5 separate regions of the Homo sapiens genome follow, and regions 1, 3, 4 and 5 are each linked to region 2. The links are contacts of gene promoters, found by promoter capture Hi-C in blood cells and fetal thymus (Javierre and others, 2016). All regions are on one chromosome and are shown on one strand. Each heading gives the region's core, a stretch centred on a gene start or on the middle of the fragment in contact. The rest is flanking DNA. Distances are from core to core; before and after follow the strand shown. Region 1 overlaps RAB11FIP1 (RAB11 family interacting protein 1). Region 2 holds the start of NSD3 (nuclear receptor binding SET domain protein 3). Region 3 overlaps PLEKHA2 (pleckstrin homology domain containing A2). Region 4 has its middle 5.6 kb from the start of PLEKHA2. Region 5 overlaps PLEKHA2 (pleckstrin homology domain containing A2).

The links. The method cuts DNA at HindIII sites, captures the fragments that hold promoters and counts their contacts. A CHiCAGO score of 5 or more calls a contact.
Region 1: a contact is called between a fragment that was not itself captured here and the fragment with the promoter of NSD3 in region 2, in 5 of 17 cell types (neutrophils, erythroblasts, fetal thymus and 2 more). The highest score is 10.3, in neutrophils.
Region 3: a fragment that was not itself captured here is called in contact with the fragment with the promoter of NSD3 in region 2 in 5 of 17 cell types (naive CD8 T cells, total B cells, total CD8 T cells and 2 more); the score reaches 7.9 in naive CD8 T cells.
Region 4: a fragment that was not itself captured here is called in contact with the fragment with the promoter of NSD3 in region 2 in 3 of 17 cell types (total CD8 T cells, non-activated CD4 T cells and naive CD8 T cells); the score reaches 7.3 in total CD8 T cells.
Region 5: a fragment that was not itself captured here is called in contact with the fragment with the promoter of NSD3 in region 2 in 1 of 17 cell types (neutrophils); the score reaches 6.4 in neutrophils.

Annotation. Positions count from the first base shown.
Region 1 is chr8:37,859,166-37,862,775 of GRCh38, reverse strand. It overlaps RAB11FIP1 (RAB11 family interacting protein 1), which reads left to right. Exons shown (of 6, transcript NM_001002814.3): 6 at 1-3,610. Among named protein-coding and RNA genes, the nearest start is that of BRF2, 11 kb to the right of the region's middle. The HindIII fragment of the contact is 2,585 bases long and covers 289-2,873 here.
Region 2 is chr8:38,379,731-38,383,601 of GRCh38, reverse strand. NSD3 (nuclear receptor binding SET domain protein 3) reads left to right here and starts at 1,331. Exons shown (of 24, transcript NM_023034.2): 1 at 1,331-1,803. It also overlaps a transcript of LETM2 not described here. RefSeq lists silencers at 425-774, 965-1,114, 1,145-1,544 and enhancers at 1,193-1,983, 2,274-2,808. The HindIII fragment of the contact is 5,398 bases long and covers 1-3,871 here.
Region 3 is chr8:38,943,538-38,947,303 of GRCh38, reverse strand. PLEKHA2 (pleckstrin homology domain containing A2) reads right to left here. Exons shown (of 12, transcript NM_021623.2): 4 at 3,467-3,515; 5 at 1,083-1,180. Among named protein-coding and RNA genes, the nearest start is that of HTRA4, 29 kb to the left of the region's middle. The HindIII fragment of the contact is 270 bases long and covers 1,633-1,902 here.
Region 4 is chr8:38,893,984-38,897,588 of GRCh38, reverse strand. No RefSeq gene overlaps it. Among named protein-coding and RNA genes, the nearest start is that of PLEKHA2, 5.6 kb to the left of the region's middle. The HindIII fragment of the contact is 2,100 bases long and covers 763-2,862 here.
Region 5 is chr8:38,925,985-38,929,498 of GRCh38, reverse strand. The region is part of intron 2 of PLEKHA2 (pleckstrin homology domain containing A2); the gene reads right to left. Among named protein-coding and RNA genes, the nearest start is that of PLEKHA2, 26 kb to the right of the region's middle. The HindIII fragment of the contact is 8,936 bases long and covers 1-3,514 here.

The DNA of each region.
Region 1 (3,610 bases), core at 332-2,831, 520 kb after region 2:
TGTTATCCGGCAAGAGTGAATTCTACCAATGGAAGCCAGGTTAATGATTACAATTAATCTTTTACTGTACATTCCCAAGGCTTTAGTTTTAAATGCCACTGTGCCTTTAACAAGGTTGTAAATATTTTATGCCCACCAGAGATGTGGTCATAAGATCTGATCCTGAGCCAGAGATTCAGATGGCACAGGAAGTATTCATGTATTTTAACACTGGGGTTTTCTTTCTTTCATACTGAGATTTTTTTTCAGTATGTATCCTCCAGCTCTTAAAGCTTACCTGAGAAAGCTTTAAATGAGAAAAGGACCATGCGATTGGTGCTGTGTTACATACACATACTTTCTTGGCTTCTGAGTAGCTCAGGTGTGGCTTTTGGCTGCAGATGTTAAATTTTGATACCATGTAAACCTACCCAGCTTCTCAGACTTGGGTCTTGTTTTTTGATGGGAACAGAGGTGTTTAGAGAAAGCCTCTGAGTATGCCTTTCAGATTTTGAACAAGCGGCCTTTTCTAAACATCGACTTCTACTACTCTCTAGCCTTAAAATACCTTCTGCTTAGATCCAGGGCCCTTCTACTGGAGATAGGAAAAGTAGAATTCAGGAATTAAAAGAATTACTCTTTATTCAATTTGAGGAACTTGGTGAAAGCCCCTCCTCTTATGACAGCCAGGTTCCTGCTGGCTAGACCAGCCTATTCAGCGCTTTGCTAGGGGATTGGGTGGTCCACGCACTCGCTAATACAGTTCTCCAGGTGTGGAATGATGTCAATACGATTGCTTGGCCTTTTCCCCCTGTGCCTTTGCTCGGTGCTCTGGTTTCCTCAGCAACACTCCTTGTAAGGGGCAGAGACAGGGTCCACCAACTCCCCAAGATGAAGAAGCCCCTTCAGGCCAGTCGTGGTGGCTCATGCCTGTAATCCCAGCACTTTGCAAGGCCGAGGAGGGTGGATCACTTGAGGTCAGGAGTTCGAGACCAGCCTGACCAACATGGCGAAACCCCATCTCTACTAAAAATACAAAAATTAGCTTGGCATGGTGGTGCGTGCCTGTAATCCCAGCTACTCGGGAGGCTGGGGCAGGAGAATTGCTTGAACTTGGGAGATGGAGGCTGCAGCGAGCCAAGATCGTGCCACTGCACTCCAGCCTGGGCAAGAGTTTTTTTAAGACTCTTAAAAAAAGAGCCTGGGCAATTTTTTTAAGACTCTGTCTTAAAAAAAACTAAAAAGAAAAAAAGAAGCCCCTTCACTCTACAGGGGACAGGAGACCATGGATTGGACCCCAAAGGGATTGAACTGCATCTGCATGTCTGTCCTTTGAACACTTTCTCTCCCTGCCCAAAAGGAAACCCAAATTATTTGTGGGATACTGGGGAAATTGTAGTGAAGGGCTTAATGTAGTTAATAAAAGTTAAAAGTCAGTAGAAAACAGGTGCCTCAGCCTTCAAATGGTTGCTTTTTTTCCATTTTCCCTCATGAATAGACTCACCAGCATTTTACCCCCTTGTTATAAAACTGTGCAGAGCAAGAAGATGATACTTATTTTTGAATTTGTATTTTTAAAACTAGATTTATAGACTTTTTTTTTTTTTAACTAGGGCACTTGCTTCCTTCTTAGCTAAAAGCACCAGCTGAGATTTTTCAGGTAATTTTGTTGTTACTCACTTAAGACTGGAATTAGAATGTTTCTGGTATTTCTCATTTTTTTCCCTGGCTATGATAGAATCTCATCTAATCTTGACATCTCTCCTAGGGGAAGAATATCACAGGCTAATAGCGTGGTTGGGGGTGAAGATGATAGCAGTTATTAAATCAGGAATCTCTTTTATGTGTGTCCTTGTTACATTGAGGTTAAGAGACAAAATCATTGGCAGTGCAATCTCTTTCCAGGATTTCGTTTGCTGTGGCATTGGTTATATCAGAGCACTTTAATCTGAAGGATGATACTGTAACTTGATTTATCTAATTAGCTTTTAATTATCTACAGCTATTTTATTTTATTTAATTCTCTCCTACAGTACTGGGACCACTGTAAACTTCTCAGATGACTTGTATTTTTGTAGTGCTATGAAATTTATTTACATACTTATAAAGAAAACTGTATGTTCACTTGAACTCTGAAAATGTACATGTATGGCTGGACGCGGTGGCTCACGCCTGTAATCCCAGCACTTTGGGAGGCTGAGGCGGGTGAATCACTTGATTGAGGTCAGGAGTTCGAGACCAGCCTGGCCAACATGGCAAAACCCCGTCTCTACTAAAAAATACAGAAATTAGCTGGGTGTGGTGGCAGACAGCTGTAATCTCAGCTGCTCGGGAGGCTGAGGCACAAGAATCGCTTGAGCCAGGGAGGTGGAGGTTGCAGTGAGCTGAGATCACATCATTGCACTCCAGCCTGGGCAACGGGCGAGACTCTGTCTCAAAAAAAAGAAAGAAAGAAAAGGTACATGTATATATTTGTCCTGCATTATGTTTTTTACTTGATATAAATGTATTTTTACTGTGATAGTCCAAGTGCCCTGGGGGGCAGGTGTGCTCTATGTGGTTCTTCTTCCATTGGAGAGCTGGCGTAGAGATCTGCAGTGTTCACAAGGATGTTGGTTTGGAGATGTCTGCTGCTAGGACCTGGGGTGTGTGACTCAGTCCATATGAGAGGGACATCTGGGTGGAGGAGTAAATTCCTGTGCTCTGAAATGCCACTTGGTAGCTCTGGACAATGAAGGACAATTGACTCAAGGGTGCCTGGCTTCTGCTGCTGCTGGGAAAAAATTCAGTTTATAGCATTCCTGCACCTCCCAAAGTAGATAACCTGGAGGTCATTCAGTTAACAACTGTCCCTGAGGACTCAGTTTTGGGGGAGGGGTTATCTGGGAGAAGCTTTAGCCTGTTCTGAGCCATTAGGAGACATTAGTGAATTGGAGCACTGGAGAATCCTACAAATGGCCTATGTCTCAGAAGAGCTGGGACCTCCTTCCAGCTGCTGCAGATGCTGACAGGCCCTGGGAGGCTGCTGTGCTCTGGAGAAGCTGGAGCAGCTCATTTCTTGGCCTAGCCTGGCTGCCTCAGAAAGAGCAGTCAGGACTTGAGGGAAGCATCAAATTCTATACCCATAAACTGCAGTTGGAAGTCAGCTTTTTGAAATGTCCAGCCTTTGCCCAATTGTTTCAGATCATCTCATGCCTCAGGCTTTGGCAGGTATCCTGCCCTCCATCTTATTCCAGTGTGTTCACCTCATCAAGGCAGCAGAGTGGATGAAGGAGTAAGTCTGCCCTTTGCCATACTGAACAGCTGTGGACCCCGATTGGTGAGGGCTCTGCATATGCCTGTATGAAGGAGATACAGGTGTGTGTGCACATGCCGGTATGAAGAAGACACAGGCATGTGCTTCTCAGTTTTGCTAACAGTGGGAGCTCAACGGGGCAGAGGGAGGAAGGTCCATGATGCTCAGCCACATACTGTAGAGAGAGGCAATTTAATGTTAAATGACGCACCATCCTCCCTCCCACCCTTCTCCCAGTCAACTTTTTTTCTTTTTCTAGAACTACTAATTATCTCTCAAGGCTGAAAAATTAATTGCCTTAGGTGGAGAACTTAATTCCTAGTATCCACCAAACTT
Region 2 (3,871 bases), core at 82-2,581:
AAAAATAGTTCATAATTAGTGCCCTTTTAAATAACTGATCTGTAGAAATCATTTAATTTCCTTAAGTGATATTTAAAGATAGAGATATCTAATTTCTTGTAATAGTACCAAAGACATCCAGCACTATAACGTCTACAGAGTATGACGTCTAGCGGTAAAATGGCTTTATTCTCAGAACAGAGTATCGGTTTCCTCATTTGCTTGCTGCCTCTGTTTCCTTTTTACGTTCACGTCTCTGTGCTGTAACCTTCCAAATCCTTATCACCAGGCCCCAGGAAATATCACCTGGTCGGCACACTCCTGCAGGGCCAGATCACTGTGCACACACTTAACCTTCCATTGTTTTCCATACGTTTCCTAGGATGCGGGGGGCTAGAGGATGACGGAGAGTTGCCTCCCGGTTCTTCCTCTCGTTCTTATCTTGGGCCCTCTAGGACAAATGTCCCTCACGTCCCTCGATGCGAAGGTCTGGCCGCGAGCAGCCGCGGCCTCCGGCACGTGACGGTCACGGAGCCGTCGCGGTCCCCCGCGGCTGGGGGGCACCCGGGGATGCGGCGGGCGCTGACGTCGTCCTCCCGGTTACCCACAAGCCTCCGGGCCGCAGCAGAGCAGGAAGAGGCGCGCGGGGCCGGCGCCTGCCGGGGAGGTCGAGGCGCTCCCTCGGCGAGCCGGCGCCGCCGGCCGGGTCTCCTACTGCTTGCAACCGGGGGAGGGGGACCATCCGACAGCTCAGCCGGGGCTGAGAGGGAGACGACGCCAAGGCGGTCTTGCATCGCCCCCGGCTTTCCAAATGCAGACCCTACCGGAACCGGAGCCCTTCCCTGACAGCCGTAGGACGGGAGACGGCCGAGGGGTCGCCTGGACTGCCCCGCCCTCGCGCGGTGACCCACCGGGGACCGTGCGAGGGTCGCTTCTAACCCTTAAGAGCTAGAGAGCCGAGTCACCCTGAGGAGCGCCGTATGGCGCTGGTTGCGCGTTGTTCTTTAATCAGCCTCACTGAACGCGCCGATCCCAGTTTTACCTCCCGGGCCCCACCTTTCCACGCCTCCTCCGGCTTCCCGGGGTGTTTTGTGTGTCACTCTCCCACGTACAGTCCCTCCCCGTCCCTCGTTCCTCGGCCCTCTCGCCCGGTCTCCCTAGTCGTCCAGACGCTAGCTGCCGCGGGCGTTCCTGGTTCGCGCTCCCGCCCCCTCCGCCCCGCCGACTCGCCGCTTCCTCCGGAGCCCCAGCGTCCCGAACCAGGGACTGCATTTCCCGGCAGGCGCCGCGGCCCGCGGCCAATGAGGGGCTGAGGATTTGGCGGCGGCGGCGCCCCGAGAGTCGGGGTGGGGGGGCTTTGTGCGCGGCGGCGGCGGGAGAGGCGGCGGCGGCGGCCAGCACGGAGGCGGAGGCCGAGGGGGCTGTGCACAGGTCGCCGCGGAGAGGCGTGCGAATTCCGAGCCGAGCGCCGAGGACCGTGCTACCCAGGCCGGGCTGCCAGCCGCAGGCTCCTCTCTGGCAGCAGCGGCGGCGCGGCGACCCCCGTCCCTCGGCCTCCCCTTCCCATCCCACCTCCCGAGCCTTCCTCTTCCCGCAGCACGCCCGGCCCGGCCCGGCCGTGGCCCTCCTCAGTGCCGGCCGCCATGGCAGAGGCGTCCGGCGCGGGGAAAATCTAGCCCGGGGATTTCATGCGGCCTAGCTCGGTTCCGCCTCCTCCTCGCGCGGCCCCAGCGGCTGCCCGCACCCCAGCCCCACTCCGGGCCTCCGTGTCTCTCCTGTGATCGCACTGACACGGCCGGGGGGTTAGAATGGAACAAACTGAAGGTAAAGTGCGTGTGCGTGTGTGTATGTGTGTGTGTGTGTGTGTGTGTGTGTGCGCGCGCGCGCGTGTGTAGTGCTAGGAAGGGCTGAGGAGGGAACGACGGGGAGGGGGCGACCTAGGGATGGAGCGCCAGACCCCAGGAGGAATGGAAGGGGAAGCGGGTGGCCTGAAAGGGCTCGAGGGGAGTCCTGACGGAGGAGCAGATGGCAAGGTGGGGGGTGTGGAGGGAATTGGGGGGTGGGCCAGGGGAGGTGGGGAGTGGGATGGGAGTCGGAGTGGCGCTGAGCTGGGAATTGGGAAAGTGGGATGGGGGCGGGGATAAGGATGGATCGGGGAGGGGCAGGGAAAGGGGAGAAGAGTTGCATGGAGATTACAGACCTGGGTGGACTGATAAATAGGGAGATTTGGGGATGGAGTGTAGGAACCAGAAGAGTCTGGGAGAAGGGGATAAATTTGCTGGAGAAATGGGGCATTTTATGGGAATGAAGGGAGAAATGAGGAATGGAAGTGAAGGAAAAGGTGGATTAGGAAAGGGGATGAGGCAGGCTGCAATAGGAGAATGGGAAATAGACGCAGGAAACTGGAAGACAGGATTGGGCTAGGGAAGGAAATTAACTGAATGATGACAGGGATGAGAACGATCGACTTAGCGTCAGAGTGGGAGGAAGAGAAGGGGATGGAGGTCGTTAAAGTGTTAGGAAGGGAGGCCTTTTGTTCCTGTATTTGTGTGTATTCTGTGTCTTTCTTTCAAGGCTAGAGAATAGAGAAGCTGGTGGTTATGGGATTGTGATTGTTGTGAAATGGGGAGGTGTGGGTTTTACTGTTTTGAGGGAGAAGGCGATGTGTTTGTGTTATGGAAGGGAGGCAGGGAGAGACATGGCCATAATTTGATGGTTTTGGGGAGGGAGTGAAGATTATTTCGATTTAAAGGGGGCAGGGGCAGCCATGTTTGCTGCCAAGGCACTGCAGTGTAAATAAATTCCTTTTCCTCTCCGACATCAGTATGAATCTGGAAGGGGCCAATTCAGACTGTTAGCCCCCTTTCTTTCTATTCATGAACTCTTTTCCCCTTACGTCTTGGGTCATTTTAAATTATTCATAACCGCCAAAGGAGGTAGTGATGTTTTCCATCACTACCTTTTTGATGCTTTTCTCCCTCTCTTTACCCTCTTCCTTCTGGTTGCAAACAAGGTATGCTAATGAGCTGCAGTGTAAATTTAACCCATTTAATCAATTTAAAACTAGATTTTTACTAGCTGAAGGAATCATTACTACGCTTACATATCAAACATGATCGTGAAGTCTTTTACGTATTGAAAATTCGTTTGTTTCGGAAGCCTCAGAAGCAGTCAACATGTTTTCTGCAATTCTTTAAGTAAACAAGGAAATTGCATCGGTTATTTTACTTGGGCCTGTGCTCTTGGCAAAGCGCTGTGTCCGGGTGAAAGGGGTAGGAAGCTCTGCTTGTGGTAGATTATCGGCTTGCTGTATTTTGAATGTTGAAAAATTAGAAATGTATGTATTTTTAAATAGTATTTCTGATAGCTCTTGCTTATAGGTGATGAGCGTGTTAAGTGATGAGTGTGTTAAGAATAGTATTTTCTTTTTTAAATAAACTCTCTTTTCCCCATCTCTTCTCTTTGCCTTCATGTAGCTGGCTCAATACAATCTCCAGATGCCAGTTCAGCACAGTGCAATGATCTGTGAAGTAGGCATGCAGTTCTTAGAGTCTCATTGAGATGCCAGGGTTTTTTTGTTGTTGTTTTGTTTGTTCGTTTTTTGATTGAAACTTCAGTTGACTCTCAGGAAACTACAGTAACTAATATATTCAACTGTAACTACTTGTACAATTTGAAATAATTACTATTCTAAGGTTTAAATCCTGACAAATTTACAGAACATACATTGGTGTTAAGTAGAGCCTATTTTATTTCATATTGGATTAAATGTGTGTGTGACCTTTTGTTTTTATTATAGCAGTTGGAGTAATCCAAACTTTAACCTATCACATTGATATTGAAACTGTTCTCTAATACCAAGAAGGCCTGTTAACATTGTAATATGGTGGAC
Region 3 (3,766 bases), core at 518-3,017, 560 kb before region 2:
TAATTTTGTATTTTTAGTAGAGACGGGGTTTCACTATGTTGGCCACAGGTGATCCACCCACCTCGGCCTCCCAAAGTGCTGGAATTACAAGCGTGAGCCACTGCACCCAGCCATCCATCCTCTCTCTTTTCATCACTCTCTCTTTTCACGGGTTTACCAAGGTTTATCAGAATAAGAAGCTAATCAGCAAAAGTGCTTATAGGAGACTCAATTACACTCAGGTTGGGTCTAGCAATATGAATACTATATACGTGTACAAATTTCTTCTATACAGTTGTTCACAGGAACCCTGAGAAATCTGGGAGGATAATTTGCTGCAGCATGTAATAGTCACTACTGGAAGCCCCTCAAACATAAGCATTTCTGACTGTATGATACAGAAACAAACTTTTCAGCAAAGAAGCCATGATCTATATAAGCCAGGAGTCTGCCTGTCTTATTGATTAAAAGTCTAGTTTTTTCCAAAACATAGTTTCCCCTCTCCATCCTTCCTACCCTTCTTCCTTTCTTTTTCTATATCTCTAAGGAAAAAGAAAGGAATTCTTCATTAGCCAACTCAAGGAAAAAGAGCACACTCGTAGGACAGTCCATGAACGAGCTCTGTGATGCTTTTAAACAGAAGGCTTTTCTAGGACAGGGAGGCGGATGGCTTGGACTGACCCTGCAGGCAGCCTCTGAAAGTAAGAAGAGTATCCCCCAAGCTGGGAAAAAGTTCTGACTTCCCTCCCCATATGCTTTTCCCCTTACTTGACTTTTCACAGTCACCAATCCATTTTCCAATCCTACCACATTCTGAATCAGCATCCCAGAATCACCCGAAACATGACTGATCGGGAGCCCTCCCAGGAAGCACAAAGGGGACGCTCCATGAACTTCCCCTTGAACTTGATTCAAACTCAGACTCTCAGTTCAACTTGTGTTTGGTCAGCCAAGGAAAAAGACGAGGTGGGAGAGAACTGGGTACAGACCAGGCTCCTGGGAAAGTCCCCGCTGCCATCTCAGTTTTCCCCAACCCCAACAAGGCCATAGCCTGGGAAGAGGCACTTTTACTACCACCAGAAAACAGAAGAAACCAAACTTACGGTGATCTTGCTGGCTTGGTTCAGGGCTTCAACCCAGTCCTTCATATCTTTCTGATCATTGGCTTGAAGGAAATATCTCTGAGACAGGGCATTGATAACTACAAAAGCCACAGAAAAGAAGGGAAGACATTCCTAGGTCAGAATACAAGCAATACAACAAGTCTCCACAAAGCTAAGGTGTTTGAGGGAGTGAGATGAGTGAACTCCACAAAGCAGAACAAGAAATCTCCCATGATGCTAAGTCATTTGCCTGGATATCTAGGAAGCCCCAGGCCACACCTGCTCACTCTCTTTCCCACCTTTAAAAACATCCCATTGGCCACAGGAACAACACCTGACCATGTTAACAGCAGCCTCAGTGTGCTGTTCTGCGGTGATGAGGCTGCTGGTCTGCCGTCAACAAGACACAACTGTGAACCGCATTCTGGCGGTGCTAATACATTTACTGTCATCACGGTATATACAGAATTTTGGACCCATGCTTGGTCTCCTCTGGCACAACTGGTCTGGACTGGGAGAGTTGTCTGTGGTTGGGAAATAGAACAAAGCTTTCCTGAGATCAAATCTGTGACCTTGGCCTCACTCTCAACCTGTTCTTTCCTCTGAGCATTCCATTAGGTCAACAATTTACTTCCACATTCACTATTATTACATATATATATTTTCAGATCTGATAACCACAAAACGTGAGAGTCATTTCTGAGCTTAGCTATGAAATTTGCAAGAAATAGAAGAATGAGCATGCCAAAGAAGTCTGAACAAATCTGAGGTGGGGAGACAGAATCGCTCAAGGGAATACTTTATTCTCTTAGCATAAGCTTGAACTGTAGGAGGTGAGTCTCATGGGGTAGATGCAGAATTCATCCGTTCATTCATTCATTTGACAAATATTTACTGAGCACCTACTATGCGCTAGGAAACATCTTTAAGTGCTGAGGATACCACAGTGACAAGGCAGAGGAATACCCCTGCCTTTGTGAAACTTACATTCAGAACCACCCCAGATAGGCAACAGAAACTATTTGTTAGCATTTGCTCATAGCACTTAGCACAGCTGTGAGAACATAGTAGGAGCCAAGTAACTATTTGATGATGGATTCACTGAATTCACTGACCACTTCCTGACTTGAGGCACCCATGCACGGTGACTCTGCCTCCTACACCATCCCCCAACATGTCACTATTGGGCAACTGAGACCCTTAACAGAATTCTCCTTCCTTTGTCTTATCCCCTTCCTGGCACTGCCATCTGCGTCTCCTCTGAGTCCTCCATCTTTTCTGAGCACAACATTTCTCAGCTCTAAAATAAGGTTCACAGAAACTTATAGTGGACATTTTGCACCTGCCTTGTGGCATCAAGAAAACTGAAATGCATATGGACAATTATTAAAAGAAAAAAATGTTCGAGATGATGGACATTGATATGGTTTGGATCTCTGTCCCCACCCAAATCTGTGTCCCTACCCAAATCTCATGTTCAATTGTAATCCTCAATGTTGGAGGTGGGGCCTGGTGGGAGGTGACTGGATCATGATGGGTCGTGGGGGCGGTTTCTCATGGTTTAACACCATCCCCCATGCTGTTGTGTCATAATAGTGAGTTCTTGTGAAATTTGGTTATTTAAATATGCATAGCACCTCCCCACTCTCTTTCTTGCTTCTCCTCTGGCCCCATAGAGCCTGCAGAACACTGAGCCAATTAAACCTCTTTTTTTTTTCTTTTTTTGAGGTGGAGTAGAGTGCAATGGCCTGAAATCAGCTCACTGCAACCTCCGCCTCCTGGGTTCAAGAGATTCTCCTGCCTTAGCCTCCCGAGTAGCTGGAATTACAGGTACTCACCACCACGCCCAGCTAATTTTTTTGTATTTTTAGTAGAGATGGGGTTTCACTATGTTGGCCAGGCTGGTCTCAAACTCCTGATCTCAGGTGATCTGCCCGCCTCGGCCTCCCAACGTGCTGGGATTATAGGTGTGAGCCACCAGGCCCGGGCAAACCTGTTCTCTTTTTAAATTACCCAGTCTCAGGTATTTCTTTATAGCAGTTCAAGAACAGACTAATATAGATATGCTAATTACTCTATACATTATGTACCCCATGAATATATATAATTATTATTTGTCAACTTAAAAAATAAAACTAAAACCAAAAAAAAAAGAAAGAAAACAGAAATGTTACTAGTCCCTGAACCTCTGTCCTTATGTTATTAACAACCTTTGCAGCAAGACCAGGGAAAACAATATCACTTGACGTCCAGGACCGTCACTGTGATTTAAGTCACTCATACTCACAGGGTATAGTCACATGTGATCACAGGACTGTCTCCATGCAAAAGAGGAAGTTGCCATGTCAATATTAAATGAGTCCCTCCCCTGGCTCAGTACTTACCAAAGCAAAATGGAGTTTTTGGTTTCTGTTTTGGGGTAGCTATGCTCACCTAAATCAAATAAGAAATAAAAGAAACATGAATATGTGTCTTACAATGTTGAAGATTTCTTATTGTGAAATTTCTCATATATAAAGAGTACATTAAACATATGTCTACATTTTTAAAAAATAATAATTAAATGAAAACCCTGTACTCATCATCCAGATTAAGAAACAGGCATTATCAGTCCTATTTCTTAGAAGCCCTGTGTGCCCCTCCCTGACAGAATCCCCACCGTCAGAGATAACCATTATCTTGAG
Region 4 (3,605 bases), core at 563-3,062, 510 kb before region 2:
GGAAAGGAATGTCAAAAAAGGACGTTTCATGTGAGCTATTTCAGCCCCCTTGTTGTACCAAGGTAAAATAAAGCTCAACAATTTGCTCAAGGTTTTGAAGCTATAATAGTTAGTGGCAGAGTTGGTTCTAGAACCCAGAGTTGACTACCTTAGAATCTTCTAGTATTGGTATAGAAACCTTGCCACCAAGATGAAAACTTCTGGCCTAGAACCTAAGAATCTCAACAGAAAACCTTATGCACTACTCTAAGCATTTATTTATGTACTTTCTATTCATTTTCAATGTTAATGGCTGGTTAGCTAGATAACCTAACAACCTCCAGTGGTGAGCCAGTGTACCCTGCAGGGAACTATTGTTCTGTCCTCATAGATACCCATTACATAAGGCTGCAGCTGGGGCCAGTTAGTTCTATTAGGGAAAGTGTGGGGCCAAAGAGGCCAAGGTCATTGGTTTGATTCTGGCTCAGGCCAGTTCATTTTGCACAGAGATGGATTGCTCCAGGGCTATACACTGCACCTCTAATGTTAGCCAGTCATTTTATAAATAGTTGCTATGGGTTTTGATAGCAAAGTATGAATAGTTCTGTACCATCCATTTCTAGAATGATTGCTCAAACTGCCATTGTTTTATTCAGTCCAATTCATTCAACAAACAATTATCTGAACCCATTACCATTTTTCCTTCTGTATGTCTTGCATTTACTTGTTTTCCAGGTACTTACTAATTGCTAATTGTTATGCATGTATTATCTCATTTAAGCTTTATAATGACAATGACCCTGCCATTATTTTATGGTGATGAGATGGCTAAGGCATACAGATAAAGCCCTGATACAAACCTGGACAGCCAGAGGCCAGAGCCTGGTCTTTTACCTACCAAGCTACACTGGTAGATGCAATGTTAGGCCTTGTGAAGGATGCAGAAAAGCATAAAACAAGACTCTTCCTTCCCACCGCTGACACTTCCTATATTTATCATCATTTAGAATCTCCATTCCATTTCACCTAGCAATTGCCTATCCAAAGAAAGTTATATGGATATATAGATAGCAATACATGCACACACATATGTATTTATATTCACTGCAGCATTGGTCATAATGGTAAAAATTGGAAATCACTTTCATGCGCATCAAGAAGGGATTGAACAGGTGCATCACTACAATCTTATGCTATGCTGCACTTAGAAAAGAATGAGGGCTGGGTGGGGTGGCTCATGCCTATAATTCCAGCAGTTTGAAAGGTCAAAGCAGGAGAATCACTTGAGCCCAGGAGTTCCAGACTAACATGGTCAACATGGCGAGATCTGTCTCTGGGAACGATTTTTAAAAATTAGCTGGACATGGTGGTGCACACCTGTAGCCCCAGCTACTCAGGAGGCTGAGGCAAGAGGATCACTTGAGCCCAGGAGTTCAAGGTTGCAGTGAACTATGATTCCATCACTACACTCCAGCCTGGGCAACAGAACCAGACGCTGTCTCAAAAAAAAAAAAAAAAAAAAAAAGAATGAGGTAGATATCTATATGAAAAATACTATACATTTTAAGTGAAAAAAGTACAGAGCTTTACATGTAGTATAATTCCATTTCTGTAAATAATTTTTTGCATGAAAAAGCTCTATAAGAATACATTCCAAACTGTTAACCACAGTTCTCTTAGGGCAGGGGTAGAGGGGTGATAATGGTGGATTTCACTTTCTAAGAGATGTATTCTGTGAGGGTTCTTTTTTTGCAACAAGCATGCATGCATTTGGTTTTTTTTTTAAAAAAAGAACAGGAATGGCTTAAATTTTTAATAAAATTTAAAAGTTCCATGAGGAAGAAAATAATATTGCAGCCTTCGAGGAGCTCATCTCTTACTAAGGAGGGAACATAGTATGTACAGAAACTGATACATGCAGAGGAGAGCAGAGATAAAATTCCCCGGGAAGATTATCAACCAGCTGTGGTTGAGAAGGGCAGGGGAAAATGCATGAAGGACATGGCCCCTTGCAAGGACCTTGAAAGAAAGGTTAAAATGTAGAAAAGTGAAGAGGAGGTGAGAATAGGTGGATTCCAGATACAGAGATGATCAGAGGCAAAGCACAGAGCAGGACCACATGGGATCTATTCAGGGAAGTGTGGCTGGTACAGTTGAGCTGGAGCACGGGAGGACATAGGAAGGATTTTCATGGGGAATGAAACAGGAAAGAAAGGTAGCTGGAGTGTCTTTATTGCTAAGCTAAGGAGTCTGTACTTATTATTAGGCTTCAAGAGCCACTGAAGGCTTTTGAGCAAGGAAGGGACACAGTTGGAAGTTAACTGGCTGTGATTTCGTAGTTACTGGCTGCCTAGTAACTAGACTCTGGCACCCAGCTACCTAGTTTTGACTCCTGACTCTGTCACTAATTAGCTGAATAGCCAGGGACCAGTGACTTCTCTGTGCTTCTATAAAATGGGGAAGGTGGTGATGACAGATAACTGTCTCATACCATGGCATTTGGGATTGAGTGAATTCATGCTTTTAGGAAACATGGTTAAGTGCTGACAATGCTAAATTTGAAAAATCAGTGTCATACCTTTGGATTTAAATCCTCGTATTTCATTTGAAACTTTTATCCCAAAGAGCTAACACTTCATGATAAATTATTAACTATTCTTTTTCCCCCACTCTCAGGGAATTAGAGATTTTTCATCTCATTTTACAGATGGAAGAATTTAGGTTTTAAGAGAGCAATAGCATCTCAGAATCACACAGCCAGTCATGATCTGAATCCCTGGGTTCTGAATGGTAGTTCAGTGACCTTTGCCCAATACTTAAGGTTGTCTCTTAGCTCAAATTCTCAGAGCCTTGAGAGTAGGAAAATGGGGAGTGGAAGAAGCTTAGGAAATTTCTGTTTATAGAGTAAGAGGAACAGCAGTAAAGGACAGTAATAAGGTAAAATCAAAAAAGAGAAAACTCTGGTGGAACATCTGGAAGTTTATAAAATCAGACTTGTAAAATATAAACAGGAGATATACATATAAATATATATACATACACACATATACATACATACTTACTGGTGCTAAAGTTATTTCCTAGTAAAAAAGTTTGGAAAGCATTGTTGTACTGCTAAGTCTAACACTAATAGTGTCATTTCTCAGCCTCAGAAATGAGTGTGCGTGCCGTCCCCAGAAATAACAGTCTCCTGGCCAAGAGCACCATTCCTATTGATTCATGCTGATGGCATTGTTTTCCCATCAGTTTGAATAAGTGTAGTGCACCACTCGGAATTCTGCATCCTCAGTGATGCCCTGCAATTAGAGGGAAGAACTGGGACTTCCCAGTTCAGAGTGAGAGAATGAATAGGTACTTAACTTTGGATCTATGACCATGTTTTAGCACTGTTTGACTTTATTTTTGCTTAGACTAGTTAAATAATTCACTATAGACTAGTTAAATAATTCACTACTTCAGTACTGAGGCCACACAGGGGCTACTCTTAGTAAATACTTGTGGGTGAATATAGTCAAAGTTATTAGCAAGAATAAACTCTAGCCAGTTTATTCCAAGAGATGCCTATGGTAGTCAGTGAAGTGGGTTGACTTTTACATCAGTGATTCCCAATACAAGCTGATTATTAT
Region 5 (3,514 bases), core at 761-3,260, 550 kb before region 2:
AATCCCATGCACTTTCCTTTAGGCCCTGCCATCTCCCATGAGACATTATCTAAGAGCTGATTATCAATGAAAGGTAAATACAAAAGCAGGACCAGCAGGGTTACACCAAAAGAGGCCCAGTGTCATTGCCCAAGCTGGGCAGGGCAGGAACTTGTCCAACTGGCTCTTGGGTGCCAAACTCCAATAGACCAGAGATTCAGAGCAGAAAGGGGGAAGGAAGGAGAGATGCTGGTGCCATCTGACCTTCTCTTACAGGCCCCTGGGGTGTCCAGCAGACAGTAAAAAGCAGCTAGCAGGAGACGGAGGGAGGGGACGCCCCTGGTAATCCCAGAGCTAGGGCATGAGCTGACATTGCTGTCTGTGAGCTAAAACCATAGCTCAGCCACCAAAAGCCACGGCCATGTAGACTCACAGAAAAGAATGTGCCTGCAGAGGGGGTATAGCTCAGAGTAGACATTTGAATGTAGGAGAACGGTGTGACAGGACTGGGAAGGAGGAGCATAGCTGCCGCTGCCCCACATTCCAAAGCCCTCACCCTGACATGAGCAACCAAAGCAGGGGAGCCAAGCGAATCCCAGGCACCAGGTGACCTGGGCCGTGGCTCTACCTGCTGCTCTAGGGCCAAACACCTCTCCTCCCCTCTGCCCTGTAGGTCCACTTGCTGATGCTAACGCGGGGACACACGACACGCTGATAGCTACTCTCCCCATTCTCCAGTTCAAAGTGTGTATTTAATCTTTCCCTTCAGGAGAAGTCGATTCTATATCATCCTCTGCTGCGTGGGCTTAATGTTTTTATTCTATTACTTGGATGTCGATTTCTTGTTGACAGACACCAGTATCAGCTTTAGACAGGATAAGTTTCATTGTGTGTTAAGTCTCTCAGCCACACCCCCATTCCCTTTATTTCCGTCTTCCAACTCTGGTGACAGAGACTTAAAGACCAGGTCGGGCCGGGCGCGGTGATTCATGCCTGTAATCTCAACACTTTGGGAGGCCAAGGCGGGTGGATCACTTGAGGTCAGGAGTTCAAGACCAACCTGGCCAACATGGTGAAACCCTGTCTCTACTAAAAATACAAACATTAGCTGGGTGTGGTGGCGCACACCTTTAATCCCAGGTATCCGGGAGGCTGCGGTAGGAGAATCGCTTGAACCCAGGAGACAGAGGTTGCAGTGAGCCAAGATCACACCACTGCACTCCAGCCTGGGTGACAGAGTGAGTGAGACTCCATCTCAAAAAGAAAAAAAAAAAAAAAAAAAAGACCAGGTCAGAGGCCTGGGCTTCAGATAATCTCCCGGAGGCATTTGGGTCCCAACTCTGACTGCTGGCCACCTAAATGTTTCTAAAGCTGTAAACTCAATAAGCCAACTCCATCAGCCCTTTCTTCAATCCAGCCTCAAACTCAATGTCATTTCCCCTCCACTTTCTAATCGGTTTCCCTCTCCCCTCCCCAGCCTCTGTCAGTAATTCCACCTCCTCTCCCCAGTCAACCAGGTACTAAACTTTCAAACATTCTTCCCTCATGTAGCCTCTAAACCTGCCCCCCCACTCTCCATTCCCACCACCTCAGGCATATCAGGAAGCTCTGTGACAAATCCCCAGCCGTCATCTCCAGCTCCAGCTCTCCCCACCTCCCCATCCATCCCGATGTCCTGGCCAGAACAAACTTTCTTAACAGATAACATCTGTAGCACTTTAGAGCTCATCAAAGCATTCTCACATACATTATTTACTCTTCACAGCAACAATGTCACAGGTGGAGATCATTGATATCATTACCATATACTGTGGATGAGGACAGGAGGCTCAAAAAATGGATGTTTCCTTAATGAATATATTCATCATGTTGTCCTGTGCTCAATTGATATAACTAATAAAACTGGTCTCTGAAGCAAAATCTAATATGAACCCCTCCCCCAAACATGCAATAACCAACCTCCTTTGCCTTCGAGACACTATTTAGATAATAAATTAATAAAATGACTTTTTTTGAGACAGGGTCTTGCTCTGTAACTCAGGCTGGAGTACAGTGTCCTGATCACAGCTCACTGCAGCCTCTAACTCCTGAGCTCAAGTGATTCTCCCACCTCAGCGTCCCAAGTACCTGGGACTACAGACATATGCCACCACGATTGCCTAATTTCTTTATTTTATTTTATTTTTTGTAGAGATGGGGTCTTCCTATGTTGCCCAGGCTGGTCTCAAATTCCTGGCCTCAAGTGATCCTCCCACAGGCCTGGGATTACAGACATGAGCCACCATGTCTGGTCATACCATTCTTTGGTATATAACTAGATCTATAAATATAGAAAGAGATGTATATAATAAATACATTGAACAAATGTTGAAGGTTAAAATGTAAAGCAAAATCTAACAACAACATACCAAAGAGAAGTTTTGAGAAAACTTAGAATAGTCATCACTATGGTTTTGCAATAGTTATTTAACCTCTGCTAAGTTTCATAGCTTCTATCTGTTTAGCTGCTTGGACTTTAATACTGAGTAGTGCTAACTCTTAACACAATTCTTTCAATGTGCTACTTAGTTTTTTGTTTGTTTGTTTGGTTGGTTGGTTTTTTTTGAGATGGAGTCTCGCTCTTGTTACCCAGGCTAGAGTGCAATGGCGTGATCTCAGCTCACTGCAACCTCTGCCTCCCGGGTTCAAGCGATTCTCCTGCCTCAGCCTCCTGAGTAGCTTGCCACCATGCCCTGCTAATTATTGTACTTTTAGTAGAGACAGGGTTTCGCCATGTTGGCCAGGCTGGTCTTGAACTCCTGACCGCAGGTGATCGCCTGCCTTGGCCTCCCAGAGTACTGGGATTACAGGCGTGAGCCACCGCACCCGGCTTAGTTTTTAATTTTTTTTAATTTAGACAAAGTACATCCTGTTATAAAGATACAACTTGTTTAAAAAATATGATGGCTACAGAAAACACATAAAGCAAAATTGCAGTTTCTAATTCTACATTAAGCTCTCAAAAAGCCCACATATAATTTTAATTCTAAGCATGTTTTGACCAGGCCCAGTCAAATCCAGCAGTGAGCTCTGACTGCACACTACACTTCAGTCTCGGAGACGGAGTAAGAACCCTGTCTCTAAAAAAAAAAAAAAAAAGTACTTTTTAATAATATTTTTACCCTTAGCAAAATTTGCATTTGGTAAAAGTACAGATTTGTCACTTATAATCTTCTTTTGGGATTTTTTTTTTACCAAAGGATTCTGCGTTCTTACTCTAACACACTACAGACAAAAGCACATCAAATATTCCACTGACTCCTGGAAATCACAAGTCTACATGGATAGTTAAGATATCAATTACACAAAATCCATGAATTGAAGACACTTTGCCCAAACAATTTGCTGAAGATCTGAAAGTTACCATGATCTTAAGAGATAGTCTCTCAGGCAGAGATTATCTCCAGACAGACACAAGAAACTGTCAAGACTGGCTGCCCCTGCTGAGAGGACAGAAGTGGGAGGGAGAAATTTGTCACTAACTCTGCATTCCTAC